Regions from separate parts of the Homo sapiens genome. Here all the other regions are linked to region 2. Evidence: promoter capture Hi-C in 16 types of primary human blood cells and fetal thymus (Javierre and others, 2016). All regions are on one chromosome and are shown on one strand. The core of a region is centred on a gene start or on the middle of the fragment in contact, and the rest is flanking DNA. Distances in the headings are between cores, read along the strand shown. Region 1 overlaps SLC18B1 (solute carrier family 18 member B1). Region 2 holds the start of TAAR8 (trace amine associated receptor 8). Region 3 overlaps SLC18B1 (solute carrier family 18 member B1).

Region 1 (3,984 bases), core at 1,224-3,723, 220 kb after region 2:
CCTTGTGCACATACTACGGACTGTCCCCTGTCAGAATGAATGGTGGTTACATCCTCTTCCTTTAGATCTCAACTCAAAGGTCGCACTTCCATGGACTTTTTCAAATTAGGCACCCATATCTAAACAAACCCAGCCAACTACTCTATCACATCACCATGTTTTTTTTTCCTTCTTAGCATTTCTGTAAGATAATTGGAGAGTCTGATATTTATTTATTGTTCGTCTCTTCCACCAGTATAAGTTACATAAAAGCAGAGATTGTGTTTATCTTGATCACAGCCAAATCCCTAGCATCTGGCATAGTGTCAGCTCAGAGAAGACATTCAAAAGATATTTTTGAATGAATAGATAAAACCATTTCTTCTTTAAAAAAATTACTGTAAATGTGGCTACTACACCATGAAAATAGACCAAGAAGCATGAGAGTTACACAATAGACATTTATTCACTTCAACATCACAATTTCACACGAAGTTGGAGGAAGCCCTTCCCTAACAAAACAAGCATTCGCATTAGGGGAAGGAGGCTGACCTGCTCTAGGGATGAAATACATCTACCAAGATATAGATAAAAACAAAAACAAAACAGATGGTAGAGCCAAAAAACAGAGACATTAAAGGAAATGAAAAACGTTATACCAAGTAATGTTTATAAATCCAGATCATAAGTGAACGTAGGTTACAAAAATGGAAGTTGTAAGTATTGTTATTCTTGTACTTTTCACACAAACAGAATTTTTAGAAAAGCTTAAGGTCAGGGAGTGCTAGAGAGTTTCTGTATGGCAGGCAAGAATTCTTCCTTTTGAACAAGACCGAAAAACCTCAGGACAAAGAGAAAGTATATCTTTTAAAAACTGATTTCATAGTAATGTTTCTACATATTTTGAAGCACCTTTATGTATTTAGAGCATATCAAATTAATTCATTTCTTTCCCTGTTAATAAAAAAGGTACATTCACAGAATCAGTGTACTTAGAATAAAAAATAAACAGAGGAAATAAGAACTAACTCGAGTTAATAACAACATCTTTAAGGACAAGTTTGGTCATTTAAAAACTAAGTCTTGTTTTGTTTTGCTTGTTTTTAATTACTCCTTTCATACTTAATATTTCAAATATAGCTGCTTCAGCAGGACAGCTTTTCAGTATCACAGTAAGTACAGCCCAATACAGGATCATCCAAAAACACGTTGACACTTCCAAGACACTGGCACGGGGTCCACGGAGTTTTGCGCGTAAAATTTTAAAAACCCTTCCTACGGTGATGTTTAAGGCCAGGAGCATTCATTTCTCAACCTTGTATCAATCCAGGATCCATCGGACTAGGTTTCATTAGGCAAGAGAGTAGTTCGTTCCTCCTCTGTGCTGAGGATGTTTTGAGATTTAGACCTACATTGAGGGAAAGAAGAGATGAATCTCAATATTTCTCATCTTAAAAACAAACAAACAAACAAAAAACCAGTACCTGTATCTCCATCCAACTATCTTTTTAAAAAAGTTTCTACTGCCCGGGCATGGTGGCTCACGCCTGTAATCCCAGCATTTTGGGAGGCAGAGGCAGGCGGATCACTTGAGGTCAGGAGTTCGAGACCAGCCTGGCCAACATGGTGAAACCCTGTCTCTACTAAAAATACAAAAATTAACTGGGCATGGTGACCCATGCCTGTAATCTCAGCTACGTGGGAGGCTGAGGCAGGAAAACCGCTTGAACCCGGGGGGCAGAAGTTGCAGTGAGCTGAGATTGTGCCACTGCATGCCAGTCTGGGTGACAGAGCAAGACACCATCTCAAAAAATAAAAATTAAAAAAGTATCTACCAACTGATGAGCCTCAGAGTGCTTAGAAATCCACTGACTGGAAGAATAAATGTAAAATGTTATTTATTTTCCACTTGCACTGGCTAACTTTTAAAGAGAGAAAAAAAGCCCCAAAATTGACCATACCTTTTTCTCCTTGAATACTCCAGTAGATAAAACAAGCCCATGGCTAATCCCTTAAACACAATTAAAAGTACTGATTAATGTAAATTTTCCAAGTCAAGTTTTTCCACAAATATAAGGAAAATGCAAATAAAAGACTGATTACTCACACTTATCAGAGCCCATAGACCTTGTATAGCTGCTGCCCATTCAAAACCAATTTTCTCATACAGAAATCCACCCAGCGTTGGTCCCATAAAAGCACTAACAATAGAAAGAAGAAAAAGTATTCAATAGTGCAAAAAATAAATAATTACTTCATGAAAAGCTACATGATCCTTCAATTGTAAGTCTTCATTACATTGGAAGATAAGTACTAAAGATAAAGCTAATTCCTGGGCACAGCATTCAGTAAAAGAAAATAATTCTACCTGATAATGACATTCAAAATTTTTTAACAATTTTGAAATTATTACTGCTTCTGAAAAGTTGATGGCTTATATAAAAATAAAAAATATGAAACAGATTTAAAAAATTCTTTATATTATTCTATTCTCAGTATTTGCAACTAATATAACTCAATTCAAAACAATATATTACATTGTTAGCATAGTTACCCTTCTGGTAGAAGGTAAAAAATAAACAAATGAATGAATAAATGAATAAATTGTAAAAATCAGAGACATGTTTCTATTAAAGGAACTTATAAATACCACTCAAATAAGATAAAGTATATGAAACCATTTTGACTAAGTATTAAACTGTTGGTATAGGCATTGATTGTTGAGTGAAAGGGTATGGATTAGAACTCTGGCTTTCCCCTAGATGAACTGTTTGTCTTTGAGAAACTCATCTGATCCCTCAGTGTTTCAATTTCTTCATCAACATCAAGCAGGGATAGTATTAATATTTTCCATCTTGCAAGTATGAATGAAATTAAATGAGGCTGGGCACAGTGGCTCATGCCTGTAATCCCAGCACTTTGGGAGGCCAAGGCGGGCAGATCACCTGAGGTCAGGAGTTCAAGACCAGCCTGGCCAACACGGTGAAACCCTGTCTCTACTAAAAATACAAAAATTAGCCAGATGTGGTGGTGGGCACCTGTAATCTCAGCTACTCAGGAGGCTGAGATAGAAGAATCTCTTGGACCTGGGAGGCGGAGGTTGCAGTGAGCCAAGATCGCACCATTGCACTCCAGCCTGGGTGATGAGAGTGAAACTCCATCTCAAAAAAAAAAAAAAAGAAAGAAATTAAATGACTACTCACCCAATTGACCACATTGCACTAAAAAGACCTGATACAAGTCCCAATGTACTTAATCCCTCTTCAAACCCATTTTCACTGCAAAAAGAGACATGAGTGTATCCATTATTAAAAGGAAAACCTGTGTGAAAGAAAAAATTGTATGATAGATCAATTAAGATAAACCAAGGATAATCTGGAAAAAAACCAACAGCAAGAATACTCTGCTTCTAAGATAAAAAGCAAATCTTATTTAAAAGAATTTTCATAGTTACATTTACTCCATGGTTTTCTAGAAATAATTTTTCTGCATATATATATGATATTAAGAAGCATGGCTCATTTGCATTAAATACTTATAAAAATATATAATTAAGAAATTCTTAAAATGAGATGAAGATGGAAAGAGAACAAAGGCAACTTTTAAAAAACAGAGATAGTTCCTTATTCCCATGAGAACTATTGAACTGACCCAGCACAGCCATAGTACTTAGTGTTCTTCATCATCATGCCTATTAAACAAAAGAATGATGACCAGGTGACAGATGCTGGTCACTCTAGGCTCTCTCATGGACCTCCTCCATGAAAGAGGAACAATGCTGAGACCTATCTATTTTGCTTTAGCTTTTCAAAATTACTTACATACTGAGGCATAAACCAAGCCAGACATCTGTCCACAACCCATTTTAGCTATTAATGTACTATTATCATTTCTATTAGTGTATTATTACTATTTATATCATAATATCATATGCTACAAAATCATGAAGATTTAACATTGGGGCAAAAATATCCAACATGCTGCAAAATTGAGAAATTCAAGAAA
Region 2 (3,640 bases), core at 863-3,362:
AGAAGCAAGGTTACTCAGTAAGAGTAGGGTGAGATCAAGTTAGGTTTGAGAATTAAAGGAAAGGTAAAATAGCATTGCCAAAAAGAATTTGGTAGATGATCAACTGAATGATTGTTTTTATGTCACACCTTTAATACATGTATTAATTTATTTCTATATATTTTTAGTACCTTTATCCTAACTGGCATATCATATCTGTATTTTCAAGTCCTATATATACTGCTGTGGAGGAAAAAGGTCTTTATCATTTCCTACTTAGTAGGTGCCATATAGGATCAAAATTAGCTATTTTTTTCCCCCAGGCCTGAAATTCTTTTTATGGAGCTTCATTCCTTAATCTCGCTTCTTAATCCCCTAAATTACTGTTAGTATTATGGGGACAAGCCTGTATGTCAAGAAAGGCTGTTATTTTCAGAACTGCCTGGACCTCAGCTTCTACACCCTCTTGTCTGGAAATTTCGCAGTTACCTCCACATGGGGTATTCTTTGCCTCATCATTGAGCTGCTATTACAAAGAGATAATTTAATATCTGAAATGAAACAGGCAGTTATTCCATGGGCATATGACTGGGGCAGCAGTGCAGAGACCTACTATTAGGGTTTCATGCTCATAGTTGCTGTCTTGAATTTCTGTCTTTGAAATTCAAATGTGTGTGTTGTTAAGTGAAGAGACAATGGAGCATGTGCTGGGTGCTTGGAACTTCAGACCACTAGTAGTCTTGCATTACACCTTGTTCCTTCTTCCCTGGGAGGGGTATTCAGCCTCATGTTCCCCTGCCCCCTGGCACCTTGGGCTCCATCCAGTCTCCTCCTACCCGCTCTGACCAGGGACCACTGCCATCCTCTTTTCATCCCTGCAGAGGACTGGATGCATCACAGGGAGAGTTGCAGCCAGGCACATCCTCCACAGTCTCAGGGCTAGGCATAGACTGTTGCCTCCATCTCCCGCTGGCAGCGTCACAGCACGTTTGATGAGCTCCTCAGCAGGGCCAAGCCCCTCATGAACCCCAATCCAGGTATCAAGTGCTTTCTGCTGTGCAGGTTGTAATCCCTTGGGGGTCATTGGTCTGCCTTTTGTTGAGGTAGCAGGCCTGTGAGAAGGGCAAATCCCTGGCTCAGCTTCTCACCCCCATCCTGACTATGGCATATTACTTCAGCAGCTGGTAGGAGGGGGAATCTGGCAGTGGGTGGACCATGTGCAAGCTGAGTTGCAAGGCAGGGAATGCAGACACCTGTGAGAGTCCTCACTTGCCCTGCAAATACCTCTTTGTCCAAGGGCATTCCATAGCAAATATCGAACACTATGACAGGCCAAGAAAGACCATAAAAGAAAGGTAAAAGCTTTCTATTTCAGTACCTTTAATGACACTTTTTGTCCATACTTTTGAACAAGGGTCTCTGCATTTTATTTTGTGCTGGATGCTGCAAATTATATAGATAGTCTTGTAAATAAGGAATAGGTAATACTATTGTCAAATCTTGGGTTAGGCTATTTCAGGACAGTTGAACTTAAAGAAATCTCATGGTTATGAAAATCATAAGTGTTTCTACCAAGTTGCAGAGCACAGAGAAACAGTTCTCCTATTGTAGGTGAACTTATTAATTATAATTATCAAAAGTGGGATTCATTTCATGATTCACACCTTACACTATGGGGATTCCTTGTGAAGAATTTATAATGGGTACAATGGATTGGCTGGCTTCCTAAAATGTCCTAGGAGATGGAAGCTTATTAAAAGGTGACTTCTCAAATATGTAATTATATTATACATGATCGTCCTTTGAAAAGAAGGATTCACATGTATATAAAACCAGGTATTTAAATTACATTTCTTCAATTACTTGGTTAATGTGATTACTCAGCTGATGAAAATTCATAGTAGATTTGCTTGGGGTTAATGACGAGGTTTAGACATAGCGACAGAAATAATTATGAGATTAAAGACAGAATTATCTTTTATGTTTTTGAATTTAATTTCTCTTTATAATTAAAATTGAAAAAGAATATAATATGAAACAAAATTTGTAAGTACTCACATATGCAGTTTGTTTTTGTTTTAATTTTCAGAATTCAAAATTATAATTCCCTATCACAAGGAAGGACAGAAATAGCAAACAACAAACAGCAGAACCATGACCAGCAATTTTTCCCAACCTGTTGTGCAGCTTTGCTATGAGGATGTGAATGGATCTTGTATTGAAACTCCCTATTCTCCTGGGTCCCGGGTAATTCTGTACACGGCGTTTAGCTTTGGGTCTTTGCTGGCTGTATTTGGAAATCTCTTAGTAATGACTTCTGTTCTTCATTTTAAGCAGCTGCACTCTCCAACCAATTTTCTCATTGCCTCTCTGGCCTGTGCTGACTTCTTGGTAGGTGTGACTGTGATGCTTTTCAGCATGGTCAGGACGGTGGAGAGCTGCTGGTATTTTGGAGCCAAATTTTGTACTCTTCACAGTTGCTGTGATGTGGCATTTTGTTACTCTTCTGTCCTCCACTTGTGCTTCATCTGCATCGACAGGTACATTGTGGTTACTGATCCCCTGGTCTATGCTACCAAGTTCACCGTGTCTGTGTCGGGAATTTGCATCAGCGTGTCCTGGATTCTGCCTCTCACGTACAGCGGTGCTGTGTTCTACACAGGTGTCAATGATGATGGGCTGGAGGAATTAGTAAGTGCTCTCAACTGCGTAGGTGGCTGTCAAATTATTGTAAGTCAAGGCTGGGTGTTGATAGATTTTCTGTTATTCTTCATACCTACCCTTGTTATGATAATTCTTTACAGTAAGATTTTTCTTATAGCTAAACAACAAGCTATAAAAATTGAAACTACTAGTAGCAAAGTAGAATCATCCTCAGAGAGTTATAAAATCAGAGTGGCCAAGAGAGAGAGGAAAGCAGCTAAAACCCTGGGGGTCACGGTACTAGCATTTGTTATTTCATGGTTACCGTATACAGTTGATATATTAATTGATGCCTTTATGGGCTTCCTGACCCCTGCCTATATCTATGAAATTTGCTGTTGGAGTGCTTATTATAACTCAGCCATGAATCCTTTGATTTATGCTCTATTTTATCCTTGGTTTAGGAAAGCCATAAAACTTATTTTAAGTGGAGATGTTTTAAAGGCTAGTTCATCAACCATTAGTTTATTTTTAGAATAAGTTTAAGCACTAAGTTGAGAAAATTAAGAATATTTTTAAAATTATGAATTTATAAGGAAATTAAATATAAGAAACAAATAAAACTTTTCAAAATTGGAGAAATATATCACTTTTCAAATTAACCAGGAAAAAGGTCACAGGAAGATTAAACTATTAAACTATTGTAAAGATATTGACTACATTAAATAATAAATGATAAAGTGGTTCACACATGTCACTTGTCTCTATGTTTTGTACACATCCTTGCCACATGCACTTGTTTTTTCCGATTTACTGAATTCTGAATTGCATTTTTGGATGTGAAATTTTGAATCATCTTTTTTTTTTAATGCTCAACTTTCATTTATTTTCAAGTGGACTTTTTTTCTTTTCTTCTCTTTTCTTTTTTTTTTTTTTTTTGAGATGGAGTTTTGCTCTTGTTGCCCAGGCTGGAGTGCAGTGGCGTGATCTCGGCTCACTGCAACCTCCGCCTCCCAGG
Region 3 (3,842 bases), core at 1,299-3,798, 240 kb after region 2:
GCCTGGGTGACAGAGCAAGACACTGTCAGAAAGAAAGAAAGAAAGAAAGAAAGAAAGAAAGAAAGAAAGAAAGAAAGAAAGAAAGGAAGAAAGGAAGGAAGGAAGGAAGGAAGGAAGGAAGGAAGGAAGGAAGGAAGGAAGGAAGGAAGGAAGGAAGGGAAAGAAAGAAAAGAAGGAAAGAAAGAGAAAGAAGGAAAGAAGGAAGGAAGGAAGGACATTCATTAGTCAAGTTGCATTATCAATGTTCTTTGCTTAATAGTTCTGATAAGTATTTAATTTAGAATCTAGCAGAAAATATATAATGCCTATAGCAATTAATACTTATTAGACCCTCATTATGAGCCAGAATCTCTTTATTAAGTGCCGTTTTACATGGTATCTAACAACAATTAAATTAAATAAAGGATACATTTTTAGCTGGCCTCATTTATAGATGAGGACAGGAACTTGCAAAGGTTACAGGTCATGAGCCACTACAGTTTCCATCATGTGCATGTTCCCATATTCGCTGTGGAAATGGAATGCTGACACAGGATGTGCTAGAACCACATGCTACAGCAGCAGCCGAATGTCATTTTTGGAACATGGATCCTGCTTCACATTAGGAAAGCAAAAACAGCTATTAAAAGCAATTTCTAGGCCGGGCACAGTGGCTCACTCCTGTAATTCCAGCAATTTAGGAGGCCAAGGCGAGTGGATCACCTGAGGTCAGGAGTTCGAGACCAGCCTGGCCAATATGGTGAAACCCCGTCTCTACTAAAAATACAAAAAAATTAGCTGGGTGTGGTGATGCGCGCCTGTAATCCCAGCTACTTGGGAGACTGAGGCGGGAGAATTGTTTGAACTCAGGAGGCGGAGGTTGCAGTAAGCTGAGACGATGCCGCAGCACTCCAGCCTGGGCATGATGGAACGAGGCTCTGTCTCAATAAATAAATAAATAAATAAGCAATTTCTGGTCCTCTGACAAAAGATGAGTGTGGCAAGAAAAATGATGAATAGAAGTAGGAATCCCACACCATAATTTAAGAAAGGCACTGTTTTTCCTTTGCCCAGTTAGCTTAGCTAATAAGAAAAATGACAGAACATGCAGGAGGAAGGGTGAGGCTTCACCAATGCATTTGTTGACCACAAGATTTTAATCAGAAATGAAAAATCAAAGCCTTCTCTTCATATTTACAGCTTTTAAAGTTAGAATGTTCTCTCTCCTGCCTCTATCTCCTTTCTTTCAGCCTTCCCTCTGCGAGGCGAGACAAAAGTAGCAAATGTAAGAAGTCACATTTTGCTCACTTCTGCTTGCCAGCATAATGTCATAAAACCCCTGACTCTGTGACAACATGCAACTCTTGGGAGGGATGAGTTGAAGACAGAGCAGGATAGAGCACATGGTCCCCCACATCTCTTGCCTGAGCTATTACATTCCTTAAATGATAAATGCCCCAGCTTTGCCTTTTCCTACACATAAGATAACATCTAACAGGGTTGTGATTATGCGTTTATAAACTATTACCAAAGGTACATTCATAATCTATAACCAGATGTACTCTTACACCCAAACTTTGATGTGACCGTGCATGTACTGAGTCTCTACTACCTGTACATGAACTGTGAACTGAAATACTCAGCCTATAGTCCTCGGTAAGACTTCTGAATAAAATGAACTTTAATTCTTTAAAAGCTTGACTTTTTTCTTTGGTCATCATTTCCTATAAGCACAAAACTCAATCAAAAACTTAAAAAGCACACACCCACAGCATGGTTTTCCTTTGTCCCTATTCACTTAGAGGAAACTAACATTAGTTGCACTCACTGAGTTCCAGCTGAGCTAGGAAATGCCCTTCTCACTGGTTGATTCACTCACTCCAATTCTTCTCCATCTCAATTCCACAGGCTCTTATTATTTTTTTTTTAATTTTTTTTTTTTTTGAGATGGAGTCTCACTCTGTTGCCCAGGCTAGAGTGCAGTGGGGCGATCTCGGCTCACTGCAACCTCCACCTCCTGGGTTCAAGCAATTCTCCTGTCTCAGCCTCCTGAGTAGCTGGGACTACAGTCACGTGCCACCATGCCTGGCTAATTTTTGTATTTTTAGTACAGACAGGGTTTCACCATGTTGGCCAGGCTGGTCTCAAACTCCTGACCTCAGGTGATCCTCCCACCTCAGCCTCCCAAAGTGCTGGGATTACAGGCGTGAGCCACCATGCCTGGCATTATTATTGTTATTATTATTATTTAAAAATCCCAAGTCTGGCCAGACTGCTCTTTCTTGCTCAAACACCTCTGATGACTGCCCACTGACTAAGTCCTTGACAAGTGCCCTTCCTTTCTATCTTAGGCCTGCCTCCTCAGATCCACTGTCTCCTATTAGACCTCACTTCACCCCAGGCTCAAGCCACATCAAGAAGCTGTCTGTTGTTCCCCAGGAACATGCCATTCACTCTGCTCTTCCTGTGACTATACCTAGAACACCTCCATCTCTGTTGTTCACCATAAGAATTAACACTTCTTAGGGCCCACCTTAGGCCAGGTGCGGTGGCTCACACCTGTAATCCCAGCATTTGAGAGGCCTGGCCAACATGGTGGACGGATTGCTTGAGCTCAGGAGCTCAACATCAGCCTGGGCAACATGGTGAAACCCCATCTCTACTAAAAATAGAAAAAAATAGCTAGGCGTGGTGGCACATGCCTGTGCCCCAGCTCCTCAGGGGGCTGAGGCGAAAGGATCTCTTGAGCCTGGGAAGTTGAGGCAGCAGTGAACTCTGATCATGCCACTGTACTTTCAGCCTCGATGACAGAGTGAAACCCTGTCTCAAAAAAAAAGCCCCAACTTAGATTTAGCCTGAAAGTTCCTTTCAGTAACGCCCTTTCTTCTGCTATCCACACTCCATGTATGGCAGAATTAACCATTCTTCTTTCTAGGCTCTCATAACATTAGTATGGATAGAGGGAAGCCAGAAGAAAATGATTTAAAAAAAGAAAAAAAAAAACAGTCTTATAACATTCTGGACATCCTTTTCTTAAGGGATATCCAAATTATTGGAACCTTTTTTTTCCCATATTTTTTCACTCCCAAAGGGCAGACAAGAGAAAGCCATTTCCCTGATTTTTTTATACTACCCTAACACATCCCATGCTTAGCCTGCTCTAGAGAAGGGACTCATTAAACCTCTAGTTAATAGAACTGAATTGGGCAAGTCACAACTTCTGAGACCGTTTCTTCATTTGCAACATGCTGAGATTCTCAAGATTCTGTATGAGGTTGTTGCGGGGATTAAATGGATAAATAAGGGGTAATGTGTACTAGAAGCCAGAGAGCACTGTATGGGTACATGGCAATATTGTTCCTTTAGCAGAGAAGCCACTTTATCTTCTTTTGTAACACACAGAACGAAGGACTACATGTTTAAAAGGCAGTTGGAGGACTAACAAGCTTCCACTGCACTGTGAGCCAAGGATTTGGCAAAAAGCACAAAATAAAACACATGGATATGTTGTCTACACTCCAAGCCAGTCATATTCATTTCATACTATATCCTATTGACGTCTAGAATCCAGTTGGACTTTCTAGGGATTATTATCTTTGAATCTGTGTCATTAGCTATAAATCTTAACACCATATAAAAGGCTATGCCTAGAAGGAATAGGCCCTATTAATCAGAATTCCTCCCTTGCATAAACATTGGCGCTAGAGTCCATAAGAAATTAAAGTCAAAAGAGGGAATATGGAGCGGGGCCGGGGCTGGGCGTGGTGGCTCACGCCTGTTATCCCAGCACTTTGGGAGGCCAAGGTAAGCAGATCACCTGAGGTCAGGAGATCGAAGCCAGACTGCCCAACATGGCAAAAACC

The links. Contacts are between HindIII fragments. The CHiCAGO score rates a contact against its expected background, and 5 or more counts as called.
Region 1: a fragment that was not itself captured here is called in contact with the fragment with the promoter of TAAR8 in region 2 in 2 of 17 cell types (neutrophils and monocytes); the score reaches 5.7 in neutrophils.
Region 3: a fragment that was not itself captured here is called in contact with the fragment with the promoter of TAAR8 in region 2 in 1 of 17 cell types (monocytes); the score reaches 5.7 in monocytes.

What each region holds. Positions count from the first base shown.
Region 1 is chr6:132,768,950-132,772,933 of GRCh38, forward strand. It overlaps SLC18B1 (solute carrier family 18 member B1), which reads right to left. Exons shown (of 14, transcript NM_052831.3): 11 at 3,183-3,257; 12 at 2,087-2,180; 13 at 1,941-1,990; 14 at 421-1,387. The coding sequence ends at 1,321. Among named protein-coding and RNA genes, the nearest start is that of VNN2, 13 kb to the left of the region's middle. The HindIII fragment of the contact is 3,459 bases long and covers 745-3,984 here.
Region 2 is chr6:132,550,560-132,554,199 of GRCh38, forward strand. It overlaps TAAR8 (trace amine associated receptor 8), which reads left to right and starts at 2,113. Exons shown (of 1, transcript NM_053278.3): 1 at 2,113-3,197. The coding sequence starts at 2,134. The coding sequence ends at 3,162. The HindIII fragment of the contact is 7,110 bases long and covers 1,727-3,640 here.
Region 3 is chr6:132,792,199-132,796,040 of GRCh38, forward strand. All of the region lies in intron 2 of SLC18B1 (solute carrier family 18 member B1), which reads right to left. Among named protein-coding and RNA genes, the nearest start is that of SLC18B1, 4.5 kb to the right of the region's middle. The HindIII fragment of the contact is 1,750 bases long and covers 1,674-3,423 here.